Linked DNA regions of Homo sapiens: regions 1, 3, 4 and 5 are each linked to region 2. The links are contacts of gene promoters, found by promoter capture Hi-C in blood cells and fetal thymus (Javierre and others, 2016). All regions are on one chromosome and are shown on one strand. Each heading gives the region's core, a stretch centred on a gene start or on the middle of the fragment in contact. The rest is flanking DNA. Distances are from core to core; before and after follow the strand shown.

What was found. The method cuts DNA at HindIII sites, captures the fragments that hold promoters and counts their contacts. A CHiCAGO score of 5 or more calls a contact.
Region 1: a contact is called between a fragment that was not itself captured here and the fragment with the promoter of ZAP70 in region 2, in 2 of 17 cell types (M1 macrophages and M2 macrophages). The highest score is 6.5, in M1 macrophages.
Region 3: a fragment that was not itself captured here is called in contact with the fragment with the promoter of ZAP70 in region 2 in 5 of 17 cell types (M0 macrophages, M1 macrophages, erythroblasts and 2 more); the score reaches 7.6 in M0 macrophages.
Region 4: a contact is called between a fragment that was not itself captured here and the fragment with the promoter of ZAP70 in region 2, in 2 of 17 cell types (M1 macrophages and M0 macrophages). The highest score is 7.0, in M1 macrophages.
Region 5: a fragment that was not itself captured here is called in contact with the fragment with the promoter of ZAP70 in region 2 in 2 of 17 cell types (endothelial precursors and megakaryocytes); the score reaches 7.7 in endothelial precursors.

What each region holds. Positions count from the first base shown.
Region 1 is chr2:98,312,647-98,315,346 of GRCh38, reverse strand. It overlaps VWA3B (von Willebrand factor A domain containing 3B), which reads right to left. Exons shown (of 28, transcript NM_144992.5): 28 at 2,048-2,700. Among named protein-coding and RNA genes, the nearest start is that of CNGA3, 32 kb to the left of the region's middle. The HindIII fragment of the contact is 5,618 bases long and covers 1-2,700 here.
Region 2 is chr2:97,712,193-97,714,892 of GRCh38, reverse strand. It overlaps ZAP70 (zeta chain of T cell receptor associated protein kinase 70), which reads right to left and starts at 1,317. Exons shown (of 14, transcript NM_001079.4): 1 at 1,219-1,317; 2 at 899-977. RefSeq lists an enhancer at 536-1,509. The HindIII fragment of the contact is 8,251 bases long and covers 1-2,358 here.
Region 3 is chr2:98,342,248-98,344,947 of GRCh38, reverse strand. No RefSeq gene overlaps it. Among named protein-coding and RNA genes, the nearest start is that of CNGA3, 2.9 kb to the left of the region's middle. The HindIII fragment of the contact is 1,746 bases long and covers 476-2,221 here.
Region 4 is chr2:98,366,470-98,369,169 of GRCh38, reverse strand. All of the region lies in intron 1 of CNGA3 (cyclic nucleotide gated channel subunit alpha 3), which reads right to left. Among named protein-coding and RNA genes, the nearest start is that of CNGA3, 21 kb to the right of the region's middle. The HindIII fragment of the contact is 8,735 bases long and covers 1-2,700 here.
Region 5 is chr2:98,262,850-98,265,549 of GRCh38, reverse strand. The region is part of intron 21 of VWA3B (von Willebrand factor A domain containing 3B); the gene reads right to left. Among named protein-coding and RNA genes, the nearest start is that of CNGA3, 82 kb to the left of the region's middle. The HindIII fragment of the contact is 1,508 bases long and covers 693-2,200 here.

The DNA of each region.
Region 1 (2,700 bases), core at 19-2,518, 600 kb before region 2:
GTATTATTATTATCATCACTATTATTATTGTGTGTGTCTGTGAGTGTGTTTAACAGATTGAACCCCTTTTATTACTTCTGGTATATGCTAAAAGTACAGATTTATTCAGCAAAAAAATCAAATGTGCAAATCATCTGAGGCAATGAATGCATCCAGGTGCATGTTCAAGGATTTATGAAAATGCATTAATGTACTATCGACATTACTCTATAAAGCCAATTATCTTTAAAGGAGATTTAAATGGTAAGAAAAGAAAGTCTTTCATATATATACCATCAGTTGCCATTTCTGGTACTTTTCATTGTCTGTGTCATTCCGGAGCTGATTCCAATTGGCTTCTCTTTTTTTTCTTTTTTTTTTTTTGAGATGGACTCTTGCTCCGGAGTAACCTCCTGGGTTCAAGCGATTCTTTTGCCTCAGCCTCTCCTCCCAAGTAACTGGGATTACAGGTGCAAGCCACCACACCCAGCTAATTTTTGTATTTTTAGTAGAGACAGGGTTTCACCATGTTGGCCAGGCTGGTCTTGAACTCCTGAGCTCAGGTGATCCACCCACCTCGGCCTCCCAAAGTGCTGGGATAACAGGCGTGAGCCACCAAGTCCGGCCAGCTTTTCTCTTTATTATGGGTTATTTTCTTGCTGTTTTTCATGCCTGTCTTTAGGCCAGTCTTTGATTGGATGTCAGACATTGTAAATTGTACCTTGTTGGATGATGGATATTTTTGTATCCCTATAAATATCCTTGATCTTTGTTCTGGGACACAGGTATTTGGAAACAGGTTTGATCCTTCCCAGGCTTGCTTTTCAGCTTTGTTAGGCTGGGACCACGGAAACATTTAGTCAAATGCCAGTTTTGCTCCACTATTGAGACAAACTCCTGAATACTTTATCCGATGCCCCATGAATAATATTTTCCACTTTGGTTGAAGGAAACAGGAAATATTCCCAGCCCTGTGTAAACCATAGGAATTGTTCCTTGTAATCACTTTGAGTGGTCCTTTCTCTGGTCTTCAGTAATTTCCTCACAGCCATGCACTTATTAGCTGAAGACTGAAGAGGGCCACTCCGCAGGTCTCCAGCGAGCTTTCTCTCTGTAGCTCTCTGCTCACCAGCCCTGACCCTGGTAAACTCCAGCTACCTTGGTGTCCTCAGAATTCCATTTCCATCTCCTCAGCTCACAGAGGCTGCCGGGCTGTGTTTGGGTTCCCCCTCCCTATGCTGCAGCCTGGAAATATCTCCAGGAAGCGACTGGGAAATGCACAGGGCTCATCACATTTATCTCTCAAAGAGCACTGTCCTTATCACCTGACGCCCAGTGTTTTGGAAACTGTTGTTACATATATTTTAGCAGGTGTGTTAGTTGTTTTGGTGGGAGTGTAATTCTAGTTGCTGCCATTCTGTATTGGTTGGAGGTGGAAGTTCACCGTTGTAATTGCAACTTCCTCCATTACACTGAAGTAGGCACTATCATTGAACACATCAAATGATGGCCTTGTGCACTGCAATGTAACACCAATGCAACTAGCATTGTATATATTTGCCCTGTAGTCATTTGTCTCTGCTCATACCCCACCACCAGACACCAGTGATTGTTCCAATGAGAAAGTGGAGACGAAGAGAGCGAGATGGGTACAGAGGGAAGATAACCACCTTCCAAGTCTGCTGGCATCTCTCTGGAGCCTGGCAGGCTGTCAGCACTCAAATTGCTTGTTGAATAATTGAATGAATGTACGCAGGCTCACATGCATGCACGTATGAATAAATGAACCAATGCCTATGACTGGGTGGTTTCTAAACTGCTCCACTAGTTCTCCAGACCAGACACCTTGCTTCCTTCAGACCCTCATACCCTTCCTTCCTTCCAGGACACAACTCTCATTAGCGGAGACTGCTCCAGAGCCTTCCTGCTGGGAGGAAACGTCTGAGTTCTGGGAGGTACTCTGCCTCCCACAAGCACTGTTCCTTGCCTTGTTTCAAACAATTCCCTCACTCTTCAGTTCCTTCCTCACTGCATTATTGTTTTTAGCCTGATGCTGAGCGCATGTCCCTTATTTTTTTTTTTTCATATTTTTAGAAGTGGATTAGTTCTTTAATTTCTTCACCATAACCCTGGCTACTCCTAGCTTTCAGGAATGTGAATGCCACTTTTAATTAGATTGTAAATTTTTAGAGTATCAGAACTCAGCCCTATCTGTTCTGTTTGCAAAAAGCATCCAATATTTTCCCTAGTGATGACCTGTGCTCTATTTTCATCTAGCCTCAGGGATCTTACCGACTAGAAAAACGAAATTTGATGGAGCGATTTCATTTTTGAAGTTAGTAAACACAACTGAATACTTTCATATGTCATTGCTAAAATGTGTTCAGAGAAAAATGGTAACAAATAATCCAACAATCCAATGGTTTTGAAATGTTTCCAATGTAAGAGTTTTTATTCTGGTTTCGGGCTCAATTAGAGTTACCTACAACAGACTATAGACAAAAATAATTAGGAAAGGCTAAATGAAAATGTCAGGAAACTATACAGTAGGGGATGTTCAGTCTTGCAGATCTCAGACAAGTTACCGAGTCTGAATTTCAGTCCTAATATTGGGTGACAAATTCTCTAATTTAGATGTGATAATTAATTTAAAACAAGATTGCGGGCTTGGATCCTGACTATGCTGACTGCTAAACAATTTGAAAGTCCTGTGACAGTCAT
Region 2 (2,700 bases), core at 68-2,567:
TGCACATCAACACCACCCCCGCAACACTGCCAGGGCAGTGGGGCTGAGGATGGAGGGCAGGTGTGAAGAGGAAAAGGAAGCTCTGGATTCAGCAGGAGGCAGCTTCACAGGTGGCACCTTAGGAGTCCCTGACCCTGATCTCTCAGCAAGGCATTATTAAACACCTCCTGTCTGCCTACTGTTCCAACCAAGACGAGAGTAATGAATCATCTCGAGCTGCTCACCTCATGAACTCCTGTTCCTTCCTGTCGGGGATGCTTCCTACCTGGGACACATTTCCCAGCCTCTCGCCAACAGTCAGGAACCAGGCGCCTGCCAGGTGCCCATATCTGCATGTGCATTTAACAGATGCACAAACTGAGGTCAGAGAGGCCAAGCAACTTGCCGAGAACACACAGCAGTTGAGGAGAACTCGGTGTTTTGCTCTTTCTCTCTCCAGGTCTTCCTCTAACCTGAGCTCGCCTACAAGTGGCTCAAGCCTGCCCTGGACTCCTCACAGGAATCACAGCATTCTGCTGATGGAGCTCACGGCCCTGGTGAGCAGCCCCCTCATCTTCACAGAGTGCACATGCGCTTTCTCTGGAGGTTTCTCTGCCTCCGAGAGCCAAGGATGCAGCCAAACAGGGCCCAGCAGGAGCCCAGGGACTGAGCAGGCCTCACCGTGTCCCCTGAACAGCCCCGCTCGGCCAAGCCTCTGGAGGGGGAGCTGCTTCCCTCAGCGTGGCCACAAGCCCCGTCTGCCTCCATCTCCAGCCAGTCACCACCCAGCCCAGTCCTCCAGCTCTCCTGGTCCTCCCAGCAACCTCCTGACTCCCAGTTAATATTCTGTCTTCCTCCTCCAGACACAGCCCACCATGGAGACGGTGGCCAGGTGCCACTCCACCCAGGCACCACTTACCTGGGGACGTACAGGTGGATGTCCAGGCAAACAGGCCACTTGCGGGGTCTCTGGTCCCAATGCCAATGGAGAGCCGGTTCTGGGTGAGGAATCGGGGCTTACAAAGCCGGTTTGGATTTCCCTGCAGCCCAAGCCCCCAGCCTGAGAGGGAGGCCCTGCCGCTCACACTCTCCGCACACACCCCGGGGGAGGATGTCACACCCCGCCAGGGTTTCTCACTCATGGATGGGGGGGGTTCATCCTCTGCCAGGTCTCCCAGAGCCCCCTGGGGTGGCCCTGGTGGCAGGACACAGGCAGAAGGCCCGAGGACAGCCGCTTACCTGAATGCCCCAGCAGCAGCTCTGAGGCCCACGGTGGGCCAGGCCTGCCCGGAAGGCCTGGTGTCTGCTGAGCTCCGGCAAGCAGGCTTGTCTGAAACTAACCTATTTCCTGGATGCGAAGACAGGAAAGGGGGCTGTGTTTGATGTTTACATCAAAGTCACAAAGTGCTGTGCTCAAGGAAAATCACAGGCCACGTGCTCCAGGGAGGCAGAGGGCATTTCCGGGGCCCAGCACTGCCTGCCCAGCTGCAGGATGGGACTGAGAGATGGGAATGAGGCTAAGCAAAGGCAGGGTTTCAGGAAGGACGACTCCAGCAGCAGGAACCGTCAGAAGGGAGGAAGCCTGCATACCTGGAACCGGAGGGTAGGCAGCAGTGGTGGGAAGGAGGGGAGTCCCAGGGCTCATGGAAACTGGAATGCCCCCATTTTCCCCTCAAAGGGGCGTCGCCCTGGGGCCTGCACCAGCTAGACAACCCAGAGGAGTGATTTGTTTATTCCACAGGCAGGTTAGAGCTGGAGGGAGGAGAAACCCACTGAGTCAGCCCATACCCCGAAGGTGAGAACCCCTTCTGTGCCAGGCATCTGGATGGCAAGGACAGCCTGCCCTTGCTCTCCAGTGGCTCGCAGGCTTGTTGGGGGCAGCTGAGTCCACAGGGAGCCAGGGCTGGGAGGCCGGAAGCCTGGGCACTGTGTGTCCCCAGAGTATCCCCAAGCCAGCCTGGAGGATGTCAGGGATGCGTTCCAGGAGGAGTCAGCCACCCAACCGAGACACAGAGCCAGGGCATCCCCAGTGCTAGCCCGGCCCACCTGGGACCTTTCCCACGAAGCTGAACCTGGCTGAGTGCCATCCCGCTGTGGCCACCACCTCCTCCTCCTCTTCCTCTCCTCCCTTCCCTCACCCTGTGCACCCCCTACCCTTGGGCCTGGGGCCACACCTCATGCACTCTCTCAGAGAGGGGCCTGCAGAGCCACTCCCTCGGCTCCATCTCCCCTCTAGTGCCCCAAGGCCTCTGGGAGCCCCTTGCCCACCACCTCCTTGCTTTCTTGGGCACTAAGGGAGTCGTCACAGCTCTCCTGTCTGTGGGGCCTCAGAGACCTGTGTGGAACTGCCCTGGGCCCACTGTGGAGACTCCTAAAGCTTTTCTTCTTGGGGTCCTGCTGCCCTTGTTAAGTGGGCTTGTGATACCCTACCTTGTTTTAACCTGAATTGACTCTCCCTTAGCTAAGAGAGCCAGACAGACTCCATCTTGGCTCTTTCATTTGCAGCCCCTTACCCACCCCGCTTCCTCAAGGACTTAATTTGTGCAAGCTGACTCCCAGCACATCCAAGAATGCAATTAACTGATAAGATACTGTGGCAAGCTATATCCGCAGTTCCCAGGAATTCGCCCGGTTAATAGCACCCAGAGCCCCGGCGTTTGTGTCCGGTTGATAACGCCCAAAGCCCCGTGTCTATCACCTTGTGATAGATTTTAAGCCCCT
Region 3 (2,700 bases), core at 99-2,598, 630 kb before region 2:
GAGTTTCAAAAGAATCTTAAATCCTGATTTTGGAGTAAATAGTAGTGATCATGAGATCATTTTAAGGCATCATCCTGAAAAATCCCCTTGGACTTTGTTTCTGAAATGCACATCATTCCTAAGATTTGAAGGGGAAAACAAGACCTCACAGAATTAATCAAGAAATGGAGAAGTGTCCTGAGTCTGATGAAATGAGATAGAGTGTTTAGCACAGAAATGGGCACATAGTTGGCCCCTAGGGAATGATGTATGTGGCAATAGTTATCATTGAAGAACTTTGGGTGTCTGAAAAGTGGAAACAGATGAAGAGACTGGAAATGAATGGAAAGAGACTGAAGGGGATGTATCTGTGAATTTGCCTGCAAAAGTCATCGAGCTGCAAGATCCTAGGCTGCCATGATGGAGGGTCCAGATTTGGCCCAATGCTCACTCAATGGAGTGGCCTCTGGGGACCTTTCCAATTATTGCTCAAGCTTCAACTGAGGCATGGTCGAGTGTGGAAGGGACAGCAAGATTTTGTGAAGATGCAGGATACAGCAACCTCTGAATAAATTAGTGGGATGCTCTAACAGGCCCATGGCACTAAGAGACCAAGGAGCGCGATTCTCAGAAACCCAAAGTCTTTTGGTGTTTGTTAGAATAGGGAGACCACAGGAAGAAGAGAGCTATGGAGAAAGCACCATCTCCTCTTTCTGACAGAGCAGGTGAGAGTGGGAGGAAGGGGGTGGGGGCCAGGTGAATGCTAAGTTGCTTCAGCCTCAGCCAGGACACTAAGGAAGTGGGGAGGGGTCTGTGGGGAAAAGAGTAGCACCCAGGAGCTGAGGAAGTCTGGAGCCAGGGAGCCTGATGAGACCAGTTCTATCCACCTGTGAATTCGGTGCCAGGAAATGAAAGGAAAATACCAGCCAAGCCCAGATGTATTGAGTCTGAGCGTAAGTGTGTACATGTGTGGCTCGGGGGACTCCTCAATGATGTTTAGTTGTGTTTTTGAAATTTAGAAACAATGTGATAGTCTATGTAGTCTCCTGGGATTTGCTTTTGTCAATGAATATTAGGTTAGTAAGATTTGGTGATGTTGCTTGTAGCTATAGTTCATTTAGTTTCACTGTGTAAATAATTTGTTATTTATTTATTCTGTATGCATATTGTACACATTGCTTTAAAAATAGGGGCGGGAAGAACTAAATTTTTGATTCTAATTTTGTAAAATCTTCCCAGTCCAAACAAATTTTAGATGTACTAGGGACCTGATATTTTATAGTCAGGGTTGAAAGGCACACAAATAGTGCCCATAGGTAGGCAACAGGACTGCTGTCTCTGCTGGGGGCCATATGGTGTCCAGTGTGTTAAAGAACACACAATCTCATAAGTAGATAAGCCAGACTAACCGACGATACACAGAAATGCAAACAGATAAACCCAGTTATCAGCAAGGAGGGATGTGTGAACTTGCTTTGGCAGATGGTCTAGATCCTTGGCAAATGATAAGGCAATTTGTAGGAATGGCTTTTGGGAAATAAAATATTTATGAGGAGACAGGCAAGGTTTACATGAGAAGCAAGATGCCTCAGTTTTCCCCGCAGGAATTCTGTCAGTCAGTGCAAAATTGCAGGATGGGGAGGCCCCAAGTTGGGGAAAAGCAGTTATTTTCTGTCTTTAAAGCCCACTTTGCCTGTTTCCTTCTCAGGCAATCAAGATGATGGCATCTATTTCTCTCACCTACCTGGCAGTTGGAAGAATAGAAGGAAAGTTAAATTAAATGAATGAACAAGATTTGAAGAGTTAGAAATTCTAACCAAATACCATTAAGAGCTTGAGGAGGACTGTGGGACCATAGGATCTAATCTATCTTGTCCCCTGGGGACTCCCTGTCTCTTTCAGGTCAGCTTTGCAAACAGTCGCTATAGGGGCTGCCCTTAAGACCCCAGTGCCAGCTTTCCACTCTCCAAATTTCTACTGTCTGACCATCAATGCCTGAAGTCCTACCATTGGAACGTCATCTCTCTATTTTCAAACTTGGATCCCTTTTAAAATGCCAATAACTCCATGAGATAGAGTGTGGATAAAGAATCAAATACAAAGTTTTGGTAGGAAAAATTGAGGAGCACATTTGAGGATCCTGCAGGCCAGTGAGCGTGGCATGGGATGGGCGCCATAGCAGGAGGTGGGTAAGATCAGGGGGAAAGGGCACAGGTGAGACTTTAAATACTGAGGGCAAGCTTGGCCCCGGTTACAACTGAGCCTAGTCCTGGCCCAGCGAAATCACTTGAGCTTTTCTCTAAGCCTAAAGCCTTCATTTTCCACCCACAAAAGAAGGACAATCACCTTTTCTAATTGCTAAGCTGGCAATCAGTGTGCTGGATGCAAGGCTGTTTTTGTGGATTGTGATGTGAACGGCATCAAAGTGCTCGCTAATAGGTGTGATATGCTCTGGGACTCAGTACTGCTCAGTTTGACATCATTATCACGGCCTTGGGTGAACATATGGAGTTTCCTGCATATTTTAATATGGATACGGAGTTATAGAATGTATAGCTAACATGCACTCAGAATATATGGTGACTAAGGAGTATAAATCAAAATCCAAAAAAATCTTGAGAGCCTTCAATGATGCACTAAATATACAGGCCAAGAAAAGACATAACAGGAACACATGTAAAGTTCTGTATCAGCGTCCAAAAAGTCAGCCCCCCAAGTACA
Region 4 (2,700 bases), core at 30-2,529, 650 kb before region 2:
CGAACTAGCCTTGGGAAGGAATTTAATTTATAATTTAAATTAAAGCCCTTTCCCAAAGCTAAACTGTTTTTGTAAAACAACTAAAAGCCCAACAGCCACCAAGTTAGAATGAGAGGGGCTGGAATTCTAAATATTATCAGCCATTATTCCAGAGGTCGTAAGATTCGCAACTTCCCCAGTTACTGTTAAAGGCAACGTCACTATTGTGAGCCTAAGATCGGCCTTTTGAGATGTCTTTTCAGGTTTTCACATTTCTAACAACCGGATGGCCACACCTTGACCTACCAACCAGTTCTGTGGCCTCCACCCAGTAACTGACTCAGCATAAGAGAACAGAGTCAACTCCCTGTGATTTCATCCCTAAGCCAGCCAATCAGCACTTCCGATTCACTGGCCCCCTACCCAACAAATTATCCTTAAAAACCCTGATCCCTGAGTTTTGGGAAGAGTGATTTGAGTAATAATAAAACTCTGGTCTCCTGCACAGCCAGCTCTGTGTGAATTACTTTTTCTCTGTTGCAATTCCCCTGTCTTGATAAGTTGGCTCTGTCTAGGCAGTGGGGAAGGTGAACCCCTTGGGCAGTTACACTTGTGCCAGAAATCAGGTCATGAACATTTTCTCTTTGGCAAACATTGGAAGGTGCCCCTGTGATTGAAAAGAAAGCCTATGTGAGAGCAGGGCTGGTGTGATTGGCCAGTTCCATGATTTTTGGATAAGTCTTTCACTGGAAGATGCATTTCTGAGGATGGTTTCTCTAAAATAGATTAGCACAGGCTCTCTTGAGCAGCCACATCGTTTAAGTGTGTCAGATGTCAGTGGAGACCACTCCGGAGAAAGATGGCAATTTCTAGAAATAGCCCAGGGACTCACTCCAGGACTCAGTTAATTCCAAATCCAAAGGAAGGTCAGAGACAGGAGCCATTGGTGTGGCCATGCACATTTGGCCAACCCTCTGCCAGTTACAAAAGGGCAGCCATCGGCTCAGCAGGGTCCTGACTTGTCTCTGATGTTTGATAGTTTAAGTCTATGAGTTTAAATATTCTGGTTTTCTCAATAGATCAAACATTGTTTTGATTTTTAAACACTTTATTCACTTATGTAACAATGAGTGAGTTTCTGGCTGATCATAGGAGCTATAAAGAGAAATAAAACGAAGCCTGTTCTCAAGGATCTGACAGTGCAGTGGGGCAGGTGCTACAACAGGCTTTGCAGGTTGTGCCCAGGAGCTTGGGCCTTACCCTAAAGCCCAGTAGGAATGTGGTCAGGTGTGTACAGGCCACTCTGGCTAGACCAGGGAGGATGTATTCAGGGAACATGAGTTCCCTGTGAGGTGAGCAGCTAAAAAATTGCCACAGTTTCTTAGGGGAGAGAGAACAACTGCCTGAACTAGCTTTGTGGTAGTGATAGCAAGTGGGTAGAGTTGCCAGGACATGGCAATTTAGGTATAAGGGGTGGGGAGGAAGAGGTGCTGAACACAGTGCCCCAACAGCTGGGGTGATGGGGGGTGTTGCCTGCCCATTGAGACAGGGAACTAGGGGGGAAGCACGTTAGAGAAAGAGAATGATTCCAGTTTGAGATGCCTGCAAAACTTTAGGACCAACATAAGAAATTGTACTCATTAAAAGTAATAAATCCGGGGAGGGACCAAGATGGCTGACTAGAAACAGCTGAGGTCAGCCGGGCGGGGTAGCTCACGCCCGTAATCCCCGCACTTTGGGAGGCCGAAGCGGCTGGATCACAAGGTTAGGAGATTGAGACCATCCTGGCTAACATGGTGAAACTCTGTCTCTACTAAAAACACAAAAAATTAGCCGGGCGTGGTGGTGGGTGCCTGTAGTCCCAGCTACTCGGGAGGCTGAGGCAGGAGAATGGTGTGAACCCGGGAGGCGGAGCTTGCGGTGAGCCGAGATCGCGCCACTGCACTCCTGCCCTCCAGCCTGGGGGACACAGTGAGACTCTGTCTCAATAAAAAAAAAAAAAAAAGAAAAAAAAGAAAAAAAACAGCTGATGTCAGAGGTTCTCACCAAGGAGAATGAAAATGGTGAGTGAATCCTGCACCAGCAACTGAGGTGTCCAGGTTCTCTCAGTGGGACTGACTAGGCAGTCCCAAGGAGAGTGAGGACAAGCAGGGTGGAGCGCCTGCCCACCTGGGAGCGGCACAGGGCAAGGGGACCTCTCATTCTCAGCCAAAAGAGGCGGTGAGTGATTGTGCTACCCTACCCAGGAAACCACGCTTTTTCCATGGATCTGTGCTATCCACAGATCAGGCGATTCCCTCGTGAGCCCACACCACCAGGGCCTTGGGTCTCAAGCACAGAGCTGTGCAGATTCTTGGCGGCCTCTACACTGGAGACTGCCTAAGACTACCGAGCTCCTGGGGAAAGGGGTGGCCGCCATCACTGGAGTTCCAGTCTGCCATTTTCCCCTGCTGGAGTCGTGGAGACTGGGCAGTTTGGGCCCAGGAGGAATTCCCCACAGTGCACCATAGCGGCTGTGGCAGATCGTGGCCAGACTGCCTCTTTAGGCTAAACCCAGACCCATCCCTCCTCACCAGGCAGGGCCTCCCCGCTGGAATTTCAGCAACCCCAGCCAGGGGCTGGATGTCCCTGGGATGGAGCCCCTTGCGGGGAGGGGCTGCTGTGGTATCCACTGAATAGTGGACTTGGTCTCTCCCCTGGCTGGCTTTAAGGAATCGGGCA
Region 5 (2,700 bases), core at 197-2,696, 550 kb before region 2:
CCCAAAGGTCTATAAATCATGCTGCTATAAAGACACACGCACACGTATGTTTATTGAGGCATTATTCACAATAGCAAAGACTTGGAACCAACCCAAATGTCCATCAATGATAGACTGGATTAAGAAAATGTGGCACATATACACCATGGAATACTATGCAGCCATAAAAAAGGATGAGTTCATGTCCTTTGTAGGGACATGGATGAAATTGGAAATCATCATTCTCAGTAAACTATCGCAAGAACAAAAAACCAAACACCGCATATTCTCACTCACAGGTGGGAATTGAACAATGAGAACACATGGACACAGGAAGGGGAACATCGCACTCTGGGGACTGTTGTGGGGTGGGGGGAGGCGGGAGGGATAGCATTGGGAGATACACCTAATGCTAGATGATGAGTTAGTGGGTGCAGCGCACCAGCATGGCACATGTATACATATGTAACTAACCTGTACAATGTGCACGTGTACCCTAAAACTTAAAGTATAATAATAAAAATAAAAAATAAAAAAATAGATTTTAAGTCATAAGTTGTTATATCAACTTATGACTTAATAAAAAAGACATTTTGTGTTCATGGATTGAAAGACTTAATTGTTAAAATGTCCATACTACCCAAATCCACTAAGAGGATATAACAATTATATGTGCACCTAGCATCAGAGCTCTCAGATACATAAAACAAGCTTTGACAGAACTGAAGAAATAGACAGCAACCCAGTATTAGCAGGAGACTTCATGCTCTGCTTTCAATAATGGACAGAACAACTACACAGAATATCAATAATGAAACAAAGGACTTGAACACCACCAATCAACTGGGCCTAACCAACATGTGGAGAACCCTCCACCAAACAACAGCAGAATACACATTCTTCTCAAGTACACATGGAATATTCTCCAGAATAGACTGAATGTTAGGCCACAAAACAAATATTTAAAAAAAGAAAGTTGAAAGCAAAGTATTTTTTCTGAACAAAATGAAATGAACCTAGAAATAATAACAAAAGGAAAACTGGAAAATCCACAAAAATATAAAAATTAAGTCACATATTCTTAAACAACCAATGTGTCAAAGAATAAATCACAAGGGAAATTAGAAGATATCTTGAGATAAATGAAGGAAAAATACAACATATCGAAATGTATGAGATGCAGTGAAAGCAGTACTGAGAAGGAAGTTTATAGTGGTAAACACATTTTAAAAGGAGGAAGGTCCCAAATTAACAATTTAACTTTACTTTTCAAGGAACTAGGAAAAGAACAAATGAAAGCCCAAGTTAGCAGAGGGAAGAAAATAATAAAGATTAGAAATAGAGTATAGAAAAACAATAGAAAAAAAATCAATGAAAGCAAGATTTGTTTTTTTTTGAAAAGACCTACAAAATTGACAAATTCTTAGCTAGACTAGCCAAGAAAAAAGAGAGAAGACTCAAATAACTAAAATCAGAAACAAAAGGGGAAACATTACAACTGATGACACAGAAATTAAAAGGATTATGAGACTACTAAGAGCAATATTACACCGACAAATTGCATAACCAAGAAGAAATGGATAAATTCCTAGAAACATACCGCCTACTAAGACTGAATCATGAATAAATTAAAAAACTGAATAGATCTATAACTAGTAAGGAGATCAAATCAATAATCAAAAACCTCCTAACAAATAAAAGCCCAGTACCACATGGCTTAACTGGAGAATTCTGCCAAACAATGAAATAATTAATAACAATTCTCTTCAAACCTCTTTCAAAAGATTGAAAAGGGAGAAATGCTCCTAACTCATTTTATGAGACAGAAATTACGCTGATATCATAACCAGACAGAGATACTACAAGGAAAAAGAAACTACAGACCAATGTCCCTGGTGAACAGTGATGCAAAAATCCTCAACAAAACAGTAGCAAACTGAATTAAACAGCATGTTAAAAAGATAATCACCATGAAAAAAATGGGCTTCATTCCTGGAATGCAAGGATGGTTCAACATATGAAAATTAATGTAATATACCACATTAACAAAATGAAGGACAAAACCCACATGATTATCTCAAGTGATGCAGAAAAATCATTTGACAAAAGTCAACATCCTTTCATGATAAAAACACTCAGCAAACTAGGAATACTAAGAAACTATATCAACATAAGGAAGCCTACAGCTACTATTGTACTTAATAATGAAAGATTGGAAGCTTTCCCTCTAAGATTAGGAATAAGGCAACAATGTCCACTCTTCTCCCTTTATTCAACATAGTACTGGAAGTCTTAGAGAAATTAGGCAAGAAAAAGAAAGGAGCAATATCCAAATTAGAAAAGAAGTAAAATTATCTGTTTGTAGAGGACATGATTTTCCATGTAGAAAACCCTAAAGATTCCACAAATACTGTTAGAACTAATAAATTCAGCAAACTTAAAGGATATAAAATCAATACACAAAATAAGTTGCATTTCTATACACTAACAATGAACAATCAGGTAAGGAATTAAGAGAATAATCCCATCTACAATAGCACCAAAAAGAACAAATTAGGAATAATTTTAAGGAAGTGAGAGACTTGTACACTGAAAACTACAAAACATTGCTGAAAGAAATTAAAGAAGACACAAATAAATAAAAAAGACATTTTGTGTTCATGGATTGAAAGACTTAATTGTTAAAATGTCCATACTACCTAAAGTGATGTACAATTCTAT